2 separate regions of the Homo sapiens genome follow, and region 1 is linked to region 2. The links are contacts of gene promoters, found by promoter capture Hi-C in human tissues and cell types (Jung and others, 2019). All regions are on one chromosome and are shown on one strand. Each heading gives the region's core, a stretch centred on a gene start or on the middle of the fragment in contact. The rest is flanking DNA. Distances are from core to core; before and after follow the strand shown.

The links. Contacts are between HindIII fragments. The study calls those that stand out against the background at their distance.
Region 1: a contact is called between a fragment that was not itself captured here and the fragment with the promoter of SEMA3F in region 2, in 2 of the 25 tissues and cell types used here (bladder and neural progenitor cells).

Annotation. Positions count from the first base shown.
Region 1 is chr3:50,050,955-50,058,259 of GRCh38, forward strand. It overlaps RBM6 (RNA binding motif protein 6), which reads left to right. Exons shown (of 21, transcript NM_005777.3): 8 at 3,381-3,441; 9 at 6,774-7,049. Among named protein-coding and RNA genes, the nearest start is that of RBM5, 34 kb to the right of the region's middle. The HindIII fragment of the contact is 4,814 bases long and covers 186-4,999 here.
Region 2 is chr3:50,150,556-50,157,163 of GRCh38, forward strand. SEMA3F (semaphorin 3F) reads left to right here and starts at 4,769. Exons shown (of 19, transcript NM_004186.5): 1 at 4,769-5,009. It overlaps LOC124909484 (basic proline-rich protein-like), which reads left to right and starts at 4,115. Exons shown (of 2, transcript XM_047449434.1): 1 at 4,115-4,141; 2 at 4,506-5,234. The coding sequence starts at 4,115. The coding sequence ends at 5,234. SEMA3F-AS1 (SEMA3F antisense RNA 1) reads right to left here and starts at 5,530. Exons shown (of 4, transcript NR_135301.1): 1 at 5,179-5,530. RefSeq lists an enhancer at 93-764 and silencers at 4,044-4,103, 4,114-4,253, 4,284-4,753. The HindIII fragment of the contact is 29,271 bases long and covers 1-6,608 here.

The sequences.
Region 1 (7,305 bases), core at 1,343-3,842, 100 kb before region 2:
GGATATTAATCCCTTATCAGATATATGATTTATAAATATTTTCTATGTGTTATCTTTCACTTTCTTGAGAGTATCCTTTCTAAAGAAAAAAAAAGAGAGAGAGAGAGATAAGGTGTGGCTCATGGCTGTAATCCCAACACTTTGGGAGGCTAAAGTGGGCAGATCACTTGAGCCCAGGAGTTCGAGACCAGCCTGGGCAACATGGCAAAACCCCATCTCTACAAAAAATACAAAATTTAACTGGGTGTGGTGGTGCATGCCTATGATCGCGGCTACTAAGCAGGCTGAGGTGGGAGGATCACCTGAGCCCAGGAGGTCGAGGCATCAGTGAGCTATGATAGTGCCACTGTACTTCAGTACTCCATCCTGGGTGACAGAGCAAGACCTTGTCTCAAAATTTTTTTTAGCTGGGTGTGGTGGCTCACGCCTATAATCCCAGCACTTTGGGAGGCCGAGGCAGGCGGATCATCTGAGGTCGGGAGTTGGAGATCAGCCTGACCAACATGGAGAAACCCCATCTCTATTAAAAATACAAAGTTAGCTGGGCATGGTGGCACATGCCTGTAATCCCAGCTACTTGGGAGGCCGAGGCAGGAGAATCACTTGAACCTGGGAGGCAGAGGTTGCGGTGAGCTGAAATTGCACTATTGCACTCCAGCCTGGACATCAAGAGTGAAACTCCATCTCAAAAACAAAAAAGAAAAATTTTAAGTTTATTATGTACCTATTAAAATTTTTTTGTAATTAAAACAAATGCTAATGGCGGTATTATTCATAATAGCCAAAAAATGGAAATAACCAAAATGTCCATTGGCTGATGGATGGATGAACAAGTTGGCATATCCATACAATGAAATGCTATTTGACAATGAAAAGGAATGAAGTACTGATGCATGTTACAACCTAGATGAACCTTGAAAATACTATGCCAGACACAGAAGACCATACATTGCACAATTCCATGTCCCTAGGGGTAAGAATGGGGGAGGTAACTCCACTAGATTTCTTTTGGGGTGATGAAAATGTTTCAGAATTAGATTATGGTGATGGTTGCACTATACATTTACTAAAAATCATTGAATTGTACACATAAAATAGGTAAACTTTATGGGGTTTGTTTTTGTTTTTAAGAGAGAGTCTTGGTTTGTCACCCAGGCTGGATTGCAGTGGCACAATCTCGGCTCACGACAACCTCCACCTCCCAGGTTCAAGTGATTCTCGTGCCTCAGCCTCCCAAGTAGCTGGGATTACAGGCGTGTGCCACCATCCCCAGCTAATTTTTGTATTTTTAATAGAGATGAGGTTTCTCCATGTTGGCTAGGCTGGTCTTGAACTCCTGGCCCGAAATGATCCAACTTCCTCGGCCTCCCAAAGTACTGGGATTACTGGCATGAGCCATCATGCCAGGCCTGTTTTATGCTATTTAAATTATACCTACTAAGGTTAGGATCCTAACTGCCACTCACTAACTGAAGTGTCACATACTTTATTCGTTGGCATGTATATACTCAGTTGTCCCAGCACCATTTGTTGAAGAGACTATTCTTTCCCCATTGGCACTTTCCCCATTGTTAGAAATCAGTTGACCATAATCTATAGGTTTATTCCTAGATTCTCAGTTTTATTCTGTTGATCTATATGTTTACAAATAGCACCAGTTACCACAGCAGCTCTCCTGTAGTAACAACTCTCCAATCCCAGTAGCTTAAAACAGCAAGCATATTCTTCACTCACATTACATGTCAGGGACTATGGGTTGTTTGCTACAGTTCTGTTCCACGTGGCTTCTCATCCCAGGACCCAGGCGGAAGAAACAGTCTCAATATGGGGCAGTGTCCCTCTGGCTAAGGGAGAGAGAGGTTCATTCACGCAAGCAGTGGCTCCTAAGGCTTCTCTTAGACCTAGTGTAGGTCATGTTCACTCATGTTTTATTGGTGAAAGCAAGGAAGGCACATGGCCAAGGCTGACAATGGAGAGAGGAAGTATACTCACCCTGTGGGAAGGCATAACAGCCATTTGGCAGTGGGCAGGGGTGTGTGTGTGTGTGTGTGTGTGTGTGTGTGTGTGTGTGTGTGTGTGTGTTTATAATCTGTTTATAGGGAAGGGAACAATGAAATAACTGACTGTAGTGATCTTCCTCAAGTGAGTTAACCTCTCTAGGCCTCAGTTTCCTCATCTACAAAATGAGGAGATAAGAGTACCCATTTCATGAAGTTTATTGGGGTTGTCAGGATCAATAAGTGATGACATATACAGTAGGCCAAATACATGGTATGTACTATTTAAGAATTAGCCGGCTGGGCGCAGTGACTCACACCTATAATCCCAGCAATTTGGGAGGCCGAGGCGGGCAGATCACCTGAGGTCGGGAGTTCGAGACCAGCCTGACCAACATGGAGAAACCCTGCCTCTACTAAAAATACAAAATTAGCCAGGTGTAGTGGCACATGCCTGTAATCCCGGCTACTCGGGAGGCTGAGGCAGGAGAATCGCTTGAACCCGGGAGGTGGAGGTTGTGGTAAGCCGAGATCATGCCGTTGCACTCCAGCCTGGGCAACAAGAGTGAAACTCCGTCTCAAAAGAAAAAAAAAAAAAGAATTAGCCACTGCTACTATTGTTATTGTTTTCTCCTCAACTCCATCTGGCAGACCTTTACTCGCCCTATAAGGCCCTCCTCAAATACCATCCTCTTTATAGTTCTTACTCTTTTATTTCCTGCCAACCAAGTTTCTGCCCCCATGGCATTTGGAAGCTCAGTGGCAAAAGTTCAGGGATTTCGGGGTTGGGCAGTGTGCTTGACTTTTTGTTCACATGTTCAGACAAAAATAATTACATTCACATTAAAAATGTCTCTTACCTTATTCTGGGCTAGTGAATGTTCCCTTTCAATGTCTTTTAGATAGCTGCCAGAGACACTATCTGTATCTCTTCCTCCTACCTTGTACCTCATTATCAGTGTTTGAGAAAGGAGTTGATAACTGAATTCTCAGTTCTAGCCAAATGTGAATGGGGATCTCATAGTCAGTTCAGGCCCAAGTTTTGGGTGCAGACTGTAAATGGCTTTGGGACAATAATATTCTATAAACCATGTAACAGTAGTTTTCTAGGCATATTTCCTATAGGAATCTTTATCCAGGGCAAAGGCATTTGGGCTGCACCAAAGTCCCAGATGCCTTGTTATAAGGTAGCTCTCAAACAGTAGCTCATCAGATCCCATCTGCCAGCTCTAATCAGTGGGGAATATCAGATTCTTTTTTTAAGCTTTGAGGGGATCTGGGATATGGCTTGTTTCTTTCATTTTTGGGGGGTTTCACTTTGTTAGATATACATAAGATTTTTAAAAATGTTTTCAGTCAAATTGATTTCCTTCTTCCTTACAGTGTAAGGCAAACATTGGTGGGCACCGATCTTCCTGTTCATTCTGCAAGAACCCAAGAGAAGGTGAGTGGCGAAAGTGGTAGCAGTTTTTATCTCGTGCATTGAGCAAAACAAATTTCATGTTTTCCTTGGCTTTGAAGAATTATCATCCCTAAATCCAAGTTGATCTACAAACCTTTTTTTTTTTTTTTGAGATGGAGTCTCGCTGTGTTGCCCAGGCTGGAGTGCAGTGGCACCATCTTGGCTCACTGCAACCTCCAGCTCCCAGGTTCAAGCGATTCCCCTGCCCTAGCCTCCTGATTAGCTGGGATTCCAGGCATGTGCCACCACGCCCTGTAGCCCGGCTAATTTTTTTGTATTTTTAGTAGAGACGGGGTTTCACCATGTTGGTCAGGCTGGCCTTGAACTCCTGACCTTGTGACCCGACCCACCTTGGCCTCCCATAGTGCTGGGATTACAGGTGTGAATCACTGCACAAGGCCTGCAAACCTTTATTTATTTATTTATTTTTGAGACAGAGTCTCGTACTCACCCAGGCTGGAGTGCAGTGGCGCAATCTCGGATCACTGCAAGCTCCGCCTCCCAGGTTCACGCTGTTCTCCTGCCTCAGCCTCTCTAGTAGCTGGGACTATAGGCGCCCACCACCATGCCCAGCTAATTATTTGTATTTTAGTAGAGACGGAGTTTCACCGTGTTAGCCAGGATGGTCTCGATCTCCTGACCTCGTGATCTGTCTGCCTCAGCCTCCCAAAGTGCTGCGATTACAGGCGTGAACCACCACGACCGGCCCAAACCTTTCAAAAGTGCAATTTGAGCTAGGCATGGTGGCTAACGCTTGTAATCCCAGCACTTTGGGAGGCCAAGGCAGGTGGATCACCTGTGGTCAGGAGTTCAAGACCAGCCTGACCAACATGCCGAAACCCTGTCTCTACTAAAATTACAAAAATTAGCCACAGGTGTGGTGGCACATGCTTGGAATCCCAGCTCCTTGGGAGGCTGAGACACTAGAATCGCTTGAACCCAGGAGTCAGAGGTTGCAGTGAGCTGAGATCTCGCCACTGCACTCCAGCCTAGGCAACAGAGTGAGAAAAAAAAAATTGCAGTTTGGTGCCCAACTTAACGTAACCTGTTAGTAAATGATTTCAGATCTTATTTTCACCAGAGGAAAGAGATAGGGTTGTGGGCTCCTAGGCTAAAGTGGCTAAGTGGGCAGCTGAGCAGAGGTCAGTATATTGTTATTTGGAATACATTTAAGGATTAAGGATGTTAGGTTGAAAAAGAGTCTTTATGACATCAGTCTGTGTGGCAAACCTTTCTCCCACTCCTACTTCTTTGAAGTTATTGGGAATCATTTGCTCTATTGTTTTCTCTTTTACATTCTGTAAGCATTTCAGGATTTTCAAGAGAAAAACATTTGTTAAAATAACAGTAAAAACATAAATAGGAGAAAATAATCAGGATGTGGGGAACATTTTATTATTTTAGAGGAATAAAACTACCAGCTTCTCAAGCACTTATCTTTAATGTAAATTTCTTTAGAGAAATTTCAGGTAGGCAACTTCGAAGAGTCAGACACATGCATCCATAACAACAGTCCTGTAGTCATCCCTTAAGGAAAGCCACAGCATGACCATAAAATATAGTTCAGTGCAGGGATTCAGGTAGCCTTCTGTTTGTTGCAAGGTTAGAGTTTAATGTGCCTACAAGGAGTTTCTTAGGTGGGCTTTTGTCCTCTTGTGGAGATTTTACTCTGGTGAAGACTGAAAGGCAGGTGTTCTGAAAATCTTTAGGGGAAGGCTGTGTATGTTCTAGAAACCAAACCAAAATGTGGGAAGGAGGATGAACAACTGAGATTTTTGCTTGTTAGGTCACTTCAGGTTAGGCAAAGTTGTGTTTTTTTCCCCCCACAAGAAACACTTTTTTTCAAAGCTATTCCAGCAAATGAATAGATAGTTTTTTGTTTTTTTTCTTTTTTTTTTTGAGACGGAGTCTTGCTCTGTCACCCAGGCTGAAGTGCAGTGGCGCAATCTCGGCTCACTGCAAGCTCTGCCTCCCAGGTTCACGCCATTCTCCTGCCTCAGCCTCCCAAGTAGCTGGGATTACAGGCACCCGCCACCGTGCCCAGCTAATTTTTTGTATTTTCAGTAGAGACAGGGTTTCACTGTGTTAGCCAGGATGGTCTCGATCTCCTGACCTCGTGATCTGCCCGCCTCAGTCTCCCAATGTGCTGGGATTACAGGCGTGAGCCACCGCTCCCGGCCATGAATAGATAGTGTATGAAAACCACTGGGCACCATACCACTAAGATGAGACAGCTTTAATCTGGAAACCTGTCACTGCTATTATGTAATCTCTATATTGCTCTCATATAATACCTCTTTTTGAGCCACATGGATTCCAGTGAACCCTCCAAGAATGAATTAGTTACAAGAATGTGCCCCTAATTATAAAACAAACTATAAAGACAAATTATCCTGCTGTAGTAGGACATTTGAAATAAATCATTTATATTTTGAAGGACGTCTGCCCATTATGTTTATTTGCATATAAAGGAGCTACGTGCAGATAGGGTCTGTTCCTAGCTTCACTGGAGGAGGGCCTGTGGTCTTACAGGATATGAGTAGCTGTTTGAGCACTGTAACACTGGAAGAAGCAAGGCTTCTAGATGTGTGTTTGGGATATGTGTTTCTACTAAACCTTAAGTAAGGGCCATATCTTCGGTAATTTTGTCCCCAGATGTGTTGTTATCATTGATTATGATAGTCAGGTTCAAGGTGTCATGAAGGATTTGTTATATTTAAATGTTTAGTAGGTGATATAGAGATTTCATAAGATTACATTTTTTAAATGCTTGGATAGTTTCTTCTGTGAACTATTTCATGTCCTGTCTCAGCTTCACTTAAAATATTTTGTCAGGAACTGTCAGAGGACTTTTTATTAGATATTTCTGAGATAATATTAAAAGCATTCCAGGCCGGGCGTGTTTGCTCACACCTGTAATCCCAGCACTCTGGGAGGCCGAGGCAAGTGGATCACCTGAGGTCAGGAGTTCGAGACCAGCCTGGCCAACATGGTGAAACCTCGTTTCTACTAAAAATACAAAAAATTACCTGGGCGTGGTGGTGGGCACCTGTGATCCCAGCTACTCTGAAGGCTGAGGCAGGAGAATCGCTTGAACCCGGGAGGCAGAGGTTGCAGTGAGCCAAGATCATGCCATTGCACTTCAGCTGGGCAACAAGAGCAAAACTCCGTCTCAAAAAAAAAAAAAAAAAAAAAAGGCATTCCAGTATGAGTATTTGCTGGCAGGTAAGGAGAAATTACAGTAGCAGTGTTTTTTCTTTTTTTTTTTTTTTGATAAAGCTTTCTAGAGATTCTCTTTGTTTCTGTTCCACTAGTGACAGAGGCCAAGCAAGAATTAATAACCTACCCTCAGCCTCAGAAAACATCCATACCAGCACCATTGGAAAAACAGCCCAACCAGCCCCTAAGACCAGCTGATAAGGAACCTGAACCCAGGAAGAGGGAAGAAGGCCAAGAGTCACGCTTAGGACATCAAAAGAGAGAAGCAGAAAGGTATCTGCCTCCTTCTCGAAGGGAAGGGCCAACTTTCCGAAGAGACCGAGAGAGGGAGTCATGGTCTGGAGAGACACGCCAGGATGGAGAGAGCAAAAGTAAGTAGTTTGTCAGGGCACATACCAGACTGTGATCATCACAATGGAGCATAGATGGCCAATGTTATGTCCGGGAGCTATCTGCTTTCCAGTACCCTGAGAGATCTGTGCATGACCTGATGACAGAGGCCATTGCTGTCTGTGGACCTTCCTGTACTGCTTAAAGGAATCTATGCCCTTCAAATAGTAAATTGCTATATGAATGCAGTAAGGCATGATTTTAGATTTCTAAGTATTGGTGAAGAAAAGTATGCAG
Region 2 (6,608 bases), core at 3,519-6,018:
CTGGCTTCCTAGGAGATGATGCCTGTCTGGATCTAGAAGGAGACAAGAAAGACATTCCAGGTACAGGGGAACAGCATGTGCCAAGGCCCAGAGGTGAGAGTCTAGAGCTCCTGGAAAAGGCTCGGGATGCCTGAGGGGCCCAGTGCAGAAGGATGAAGAAGGGATACTGAGCCTGTGCTGAAAAGGGCAGTGTTTATTGGTGAAAGAGGCAGCTAAGGGCCCACGTCTAGAGGAAACACAGGGTTTAGACTGGTGCTGAAGTCCGGGAAGAACATTTGTGGTAGAGGGAACAACAGCAGAGACGGCTTGGAGGCAGCTTTAGGGAGAGGCCAGGTCATTCCAGCTTTTGATCGGCTCAGAGCCAGCCCCTGGGGCAGGCTGGGCAGGAGAAGGCTGCACACGGAACCTCAGTGAGTCCCCATGGCCTGCCTCCTCCTGGTGCCACCCAACCGCCTGCCCCGAGCCCCCTCTCCAGCCCCCTTCCCAACACTCCCCCTCCCTGGGATCCAGTTCCTAGTGGGTGGGGGCTGGGCCAGAGAGCAGGCAACAGCGCCTGGGGCAGGGGAGATGAGAAAACCAGAAAGCGAGGAAACCTGAGCCAGCGACGCTGGGGCTGGGCGGGCCGGGGCCTGCTTGCCCTGCCAGGCCCAGGGAACAAGTTCCCCCCTAAGACTAGGGCAGGGGAGGAGGTGAGGGAGTGCTGGTGTGGCTGCCGCCCTCATCCAATGGGGATGGAGGGTCTCTGAGGCCCAGGCCCTCCAAGTCCAGCCTTCGTGTGCAGAGGCCAGGAGGGCAGGCCCCAGTGCACCTCCAGGCTTCCCTCTCCCCACCTGAGGTGAGCCACGGGGAGGCAGACAACAGGGACCTGCAGCAGGAGGCCGGAGGCTGCAGTTCAGTTCCCATGCATCCTGGAAGAGCCAAAAGGAAGAGAAACAGGCACAACCACCGCCAGAAACAAAGTCCAGGCCAGGGTGAAGGGCAGGGTGTATTTGCGGGAGGAAAGCTTCAAGGTTTTCCTGCCCGTTGCTGGCACCATCATCCAGGTGGGGGCTGGGCCAATGACTTCCCTGTTGTAACCCTCACTGTTGGCTCGGTCACCCCTCACAAGCTCCAGGACCTCAAGACTATGAAGTCCACCCTGAAGCTCAGCCAGGTCCACCCAGATCCGAGTGCAGTGTATCCCACGCAGCCGGGGCACACCTGGGAAGGAGGAGGAGGCTGCCCCAGGAGGGTATTCCAGAGGTGGATTCAGTGCAGGAGCTGGACCTGGCCTAACCAGCTGTGTCTGCACACACCCCTTCACCTGCGTGACCAGACTAGCACCAGGGCGGGCCATGGGGGAGGCTGAATGAAACTTAGGCCTAAGATCTGAGTGTCCTACCCAACAGGAGGGAGGTCAGGCCAGTAGGAAGCCAGCCTGTCTCTCTCCCTTCAGATGACGCCACAGGGCATCCTGGGTGGTTCTCAGGTGGAGTTAGAACAGCAGAGTGGCTTCTGGAGAGGAGGACAGAAGGATTGTGGGTGTCAAGGAGAGCACAGGGTGGGGGGCAGCCAGTCCAGAGGAGCTGAGAGTAGGGCAGGGAGTTGACTCCCTGAGTCTTGGCTTCTTGGCTGTGTTCCCTCTCCGATCTGGTGCTGCAGGGATTTGCTCTCTTATTTTTGCTCTCTTATTCACATGATAAAGATGCGTGGAGTTCCAGAAGTGCCCTGTGGGACTCCAGCAGGCATCCAGCTCCTGCGTGCCTATCAGGGTTGCAGGCCCTTGGCTCCATGTGGGCCCTGCAGCCTGGCCTTCCTGTCCTGGAGCTTTCCCACAGCCACTGAAAATGCCTTCTCCAGGCACCACAGCCTGGTGGCTCCAGGCCTCCCCCAACCCTCCCTACCTCCCCACTCTCCTCCCTCATGCTCAACTGTACAATGGGGACAACAGGGCCTGCTTCTCAGCCCAATTGTGAAGCACCTGGGGGTGAATAACCGCAAAACTTCCTGGCATGCAATGCCTCCCAACCTGGTATCCAGAGCTGGTTTTGAGGGGTCTGTGGACCTCTGAAATTGAAGACAAAATTGTGAAAAGCTATACAATATTCCCCTGAATAATATAATATACCTCGGAGATATGGCGGGTTTGGTTCCAGACCACCACAATAAAGCTAACATTGTAATAAAGCAACTCACAAATTTTTTTGGTTTCCCAGTGCATATAAAAGTCATGTTTACACTATACTGTAGTCTGTTAAGTGTGTGATAGCATTATGTCTAAAAAATGTACATATCTTAATTAAAAAATACTTTATTGCTAAAAAATGCTAATGAAGTGAGCACATGCTGTTGGAAAAATGGTGCTGATAGACTTGCTCGACACAGAGTTGCAACAAACCTTCAACTTCAGAAAACACAATATCTGCAAAACGCAATAAACCACAATAAAATGAGGTCTGCCGATATGTATATGCACACACACACACAAACTATAACAACATATTATGATGATACAAAATGCTCACCCCAGCACTGACACAGAGCAAGGGCTCAGTGTGGATTCACTGCTGCAATAACAATTTTTTTTGTATGATTATTCAGCCCTCTCGAATTGCTTAGGAAGGAATTGGCATTCCACCCCATGTAGCCAGGCTCAATTCTAGCTCTTTGCCCTCTTCCTGGCCCCCTTCCCTGGTCTCCCTGCCATTGAAGGCCTCTGTGTGCTGGGCCTATTCTGTGTGTCTGAGTGGAGCTTCATGAACAGATCAGTTGAGCCTCTTTCCTTCCCAACCCAGTACACTGGAGTCTCTGGCAAGTCCTGACAGCTCTTCCGTGGTAACCAGCATGATGCTAATGATGCTGGAGATAGTGATAGAAGTGGCCAGGCTATAAGGAGACCATGGAGGCTGTGAGAGGATGGAAGGGATGGTGTTGGAAGCCATAGAGATGGTGGCTTAAGCTGTATTGGTGATGGTGGTGCAGTGGTGGTGACCTCAGGGGTGACCCTCATACAGATGAGTGGGGATGAGGAGAGATGGATTGTCACAGTGTTTTCAATGAGGCGTGACAAAGGGGAGAGGTGCAGGTGCTGTCACAGCAGCTCCATAACTCCAGGATGGTGTTTGCTCACCTCAAATGCCCTGCCTGTGCTTGGAGCATGAGGCAGCACTCTAAGTCCTGAGTCAGGAGACCCTCAGCAGGATCCCTAGTGCCCAGCTCCACCTTGCACTTGGAGTCAACCAGTCAATGGGTCAGAGGGAGAGAGGTCTTTTCCTGGAGGTCTTGCTAGCCAGGGAGAGAAGTGGGAGGAGGAAGAAGGCGGAGAGGAGGAGTGAGAAGAAAAAGAGAAAGGAGGAAGAGGGTAAAGAGCAGGAAGAAGGAGGAGGAAGAAGAGAAGGAAATGCATGGGGTGGAGGAAGAGAAGGGAGAGGAGGAGAGGGCAGAGAAGGAAAAATCCAGGAGAAGAGAGGAGAAGGAGGAAAAGGAGGGAGATGGAAAAGAGGGAGAAGAGGAGAGAGGAAGAGGGAGAAGAGAGGGGAGAAGGAAGGAGAGGCAGAGGGAGAAGAGGAGAAAGGAAAGAGGAGAAAGAGGAGGGCACAGAAGACAGAACAGGAAGAGGATGAAGGAGAGGACAAAGGGCCAACGCCCCTGGGAGCCTCCGCAGGGTGCCCGGGGCAGGGCTGAGAAGTGGTCCTGGTGGTGAGGCCATGACCTTGGAAAGTTGGGTTGGGCAGAGGGTCCCTTCCTGGGGTCACGGTAGGCCCTTCTCAGTTGCTGAGCCATTGGCTCATCACCAGGCCATTTGAAAGCAAATGTCCCCTTGAGGAGAGAAGGTGCTAGCTGATCTGGCCTCTCTAAGGTATGGAACTATAAGGAGAGTCTGTGGGAGCTGCTGGCCTGAAATAAGGGCTGGCGATTGAGGCGATCACGGGGAGTCGTTGAATGGCTGGAGAGAGCTGTGTGGCTGGGCTGCCCCCGACCTGGCCTAGGCTGGAGGCTGAGCCCGCGGGAAGGTCCGGCGGTGCCAGCCGTCCCAGGGGCTGCACCGCCACCTGCTGAGCAGCCCGGGCAGTCAGGGGTCCTGCGCCGCGGGGCCCACGCACGGGACCAGGGGCACGGCCGGCGGCGAGTGGGAATGAGGGACGCGGAAGGGGGTGCTCAGGTGAGCGCAGGCTCGTTGCTCCCTGGCGCTGCAGCCCTTCTCGCCAGGGAGTTGAATGCCCGGGTAAACACCAGGCGCGATGTGTGCGGTGTATTCACAGAGAGACAAAGCCAGGGCGGGGCGGGGGCGCCGCCCGCGAAGCGGGGGCGGGGGCGAGGGGTGCAGACTAGTCTCCCCCGGCGCGGGGTGCCCACCGCCTGGGAACCCTGAGCCCGGCCCACGGACAGGTGGAGCGGGGGCGGGGCGGTGGCTGGGCGGGTCCCGCCCCGGGGGTGGGGCTGGGCGGGCCGGGCGGGGCGGGGCTGCGCTATGCAAATGTCGCCCACGGGCGGCCAATTGCCGGCGCTCCCCGCGCGGCTCTGAGCGCCCCGTCCCGCCGGCGGCCGCGAGACCAGAGCGAGCGAACGAACCGCGGCGGTCCGGAGAGCCCCGAGCGCAGCGCAGGACCTGGGTACGCCGCGAGGAACCGTGCAGCCCAGCGCGGCCGCCCGGCCCGGGTCCAGCAGCCAGGAGAGCGCAGCGCTTCGAAGCCGAGTGCGCGCCACCGCCCGCGCCCCGCGCTGGGGAATGCGCCCTCGGCGCGCCGGCCAGGGGGCGCCCGCAGCCCACCCCAGGGGAGGCGGCCCCGAGCGCCCCTGAGCCTTCCCATGGCCCGGGCTGGGGCCCGGGCCCTCGGCTGCTGACGCGCCCGAAGCCCGCGGAACCGGTTAAGCCGCGGCCGCGGCGCCGATCCCGGCTGAGGCGCAGCGGCGAGAGGTCGCGGGCAGGGCCATGGCCCCGGGGGGCCGCTAGCGCGGACCGGCCCAACGGGAGCCGCTCCGTGCCGCCGCCGCCGCCCGGGCGCCCAGGCCCCGCCGCTGCGGAAGAGGTGAGTGCAGCGGGAACCGGGAGGGAGCGGGCAGGCGGCCGGGCCACCCCGCGACCCCTCTGGGACCCGCGGCACTGCAACTCCGCAGAAGTGTCCGGGGAGCGGGTCTCGTCGAGCCGGGGGGCTGCCCGCGGACATAGGGGCAACAAGGCTGGGGTGGGATTCTTACCTGTCCTGGAGGCCCGGACCCCTTACCTACGGGGCGGCGTATGGATGTGTGGATGATGTGGCCTGCGGGGTCACCCATGTGCAAAGCAACTTTTTCCTGCAAGGTTCTGGGTGGGTGCTCTCATACACCCCCACCTTCACGCTTCTGGAGCGGGAGTTCCGATCCCCCTTCTGCCTCAGCTCTCTCTCCCATTAACGCCCGAGGCAGCGCTCTTCCCCGTAGATGCGCTTGCCCTACCTCAGTGTCTCTACTTGAGGACTGGCCAGCCCGAAGGGAAGCGGTATACTGGCAGTCCCCACGTGGGGGGTCTCCCACATCAGCAGAGTGGGAGGACCTCCAGTCCTGAGGCATTTCTCCCAGCATTGTGCCAGCCCCTTGACCCCCAGCTGCCACCTTGGGTTTGCTTTTACAGCAGAGTCCTGCCTGGATTAGGGGCACGGCTGTATGTAGTGTGTAGGTGAGCTTGGAGAGCCTGCGGTCAATCCCTAGTTTGAACCAGGGGTCCCAGTGGTGAAGTGGGCAGGGGACAGCGGGGGCTTGGCGGGGTTGCCCCCAGCAGATGGGACAGGAGGGTATCAAAGTTGGCCTAGGAATGAGGCAGTGCTGGCGGGAGTTGGCTGGAGCTGGGGCTGGGGGCCCCACTGGATAAATAACTCCTAATTTTTGAGATAGCTGTGTTTTGCCACCAGAACATTACTGCTTGGGAGAGGTAAGGGAGACGCCAACCAAAGACACCAGTATGTCCACCCTGAAGCTGGGCCAGGTTGGGGACCTCTGTCCTCCTGAATTCACCCAGATAGTCTCCCAGTAGTTATCCTAGTTGCAGAGAAGGGAAAACTGCACCCAGGGGTTGGGAGCCCCATCTCAGCCCAGGGAGTTGGATGGAGCTGAGGCCTCTTCCCAGGCTACCCAAGGGGTGTGCCAGGACCCCGTAGGGTATAGTGTCTAGGCAGGCGGGGGGCACAGGCATGCCTACTCCTGCTGCTCCCCCTTCAGCTCCGAAGGAGCCAGGCCCGGAAGTGGGGAGGTGGGGGCCGGAGAGAAAGCAGGGGCCAGAGAGAAGGCGGCAGCCCACCCAGCCTCAGCCCCTCGCTGCTCAGCATACCTTGGGGGGAGGATGGAGCCAGGCTCAGGTGACCTTGACTGGGAAACCCTGGCCACAAAAGGGGGGTTTCAGTCCCAGCTATGCTGGGGTGGCTCTGCTTCCTGGTCCTTGAGGTGTTGGGGGATGGGGAAGCTGAGGAGCCAAGAAGGAGACAGAGCTCTTGTTGAAGTGGGGGAGGGAATCTGAGGGGCTGGGTAGCGGGTGGGGTGCTGTTGATAATCTCCCCATGTTCCCCTACGGCCCCTGTTCCTGCCTCCCTTCCATCCAGGCAGTCCTCAGCTCGGAGGAGCCAACCTCCCTTCCTGGAGACAGGCTGTCCACCCCC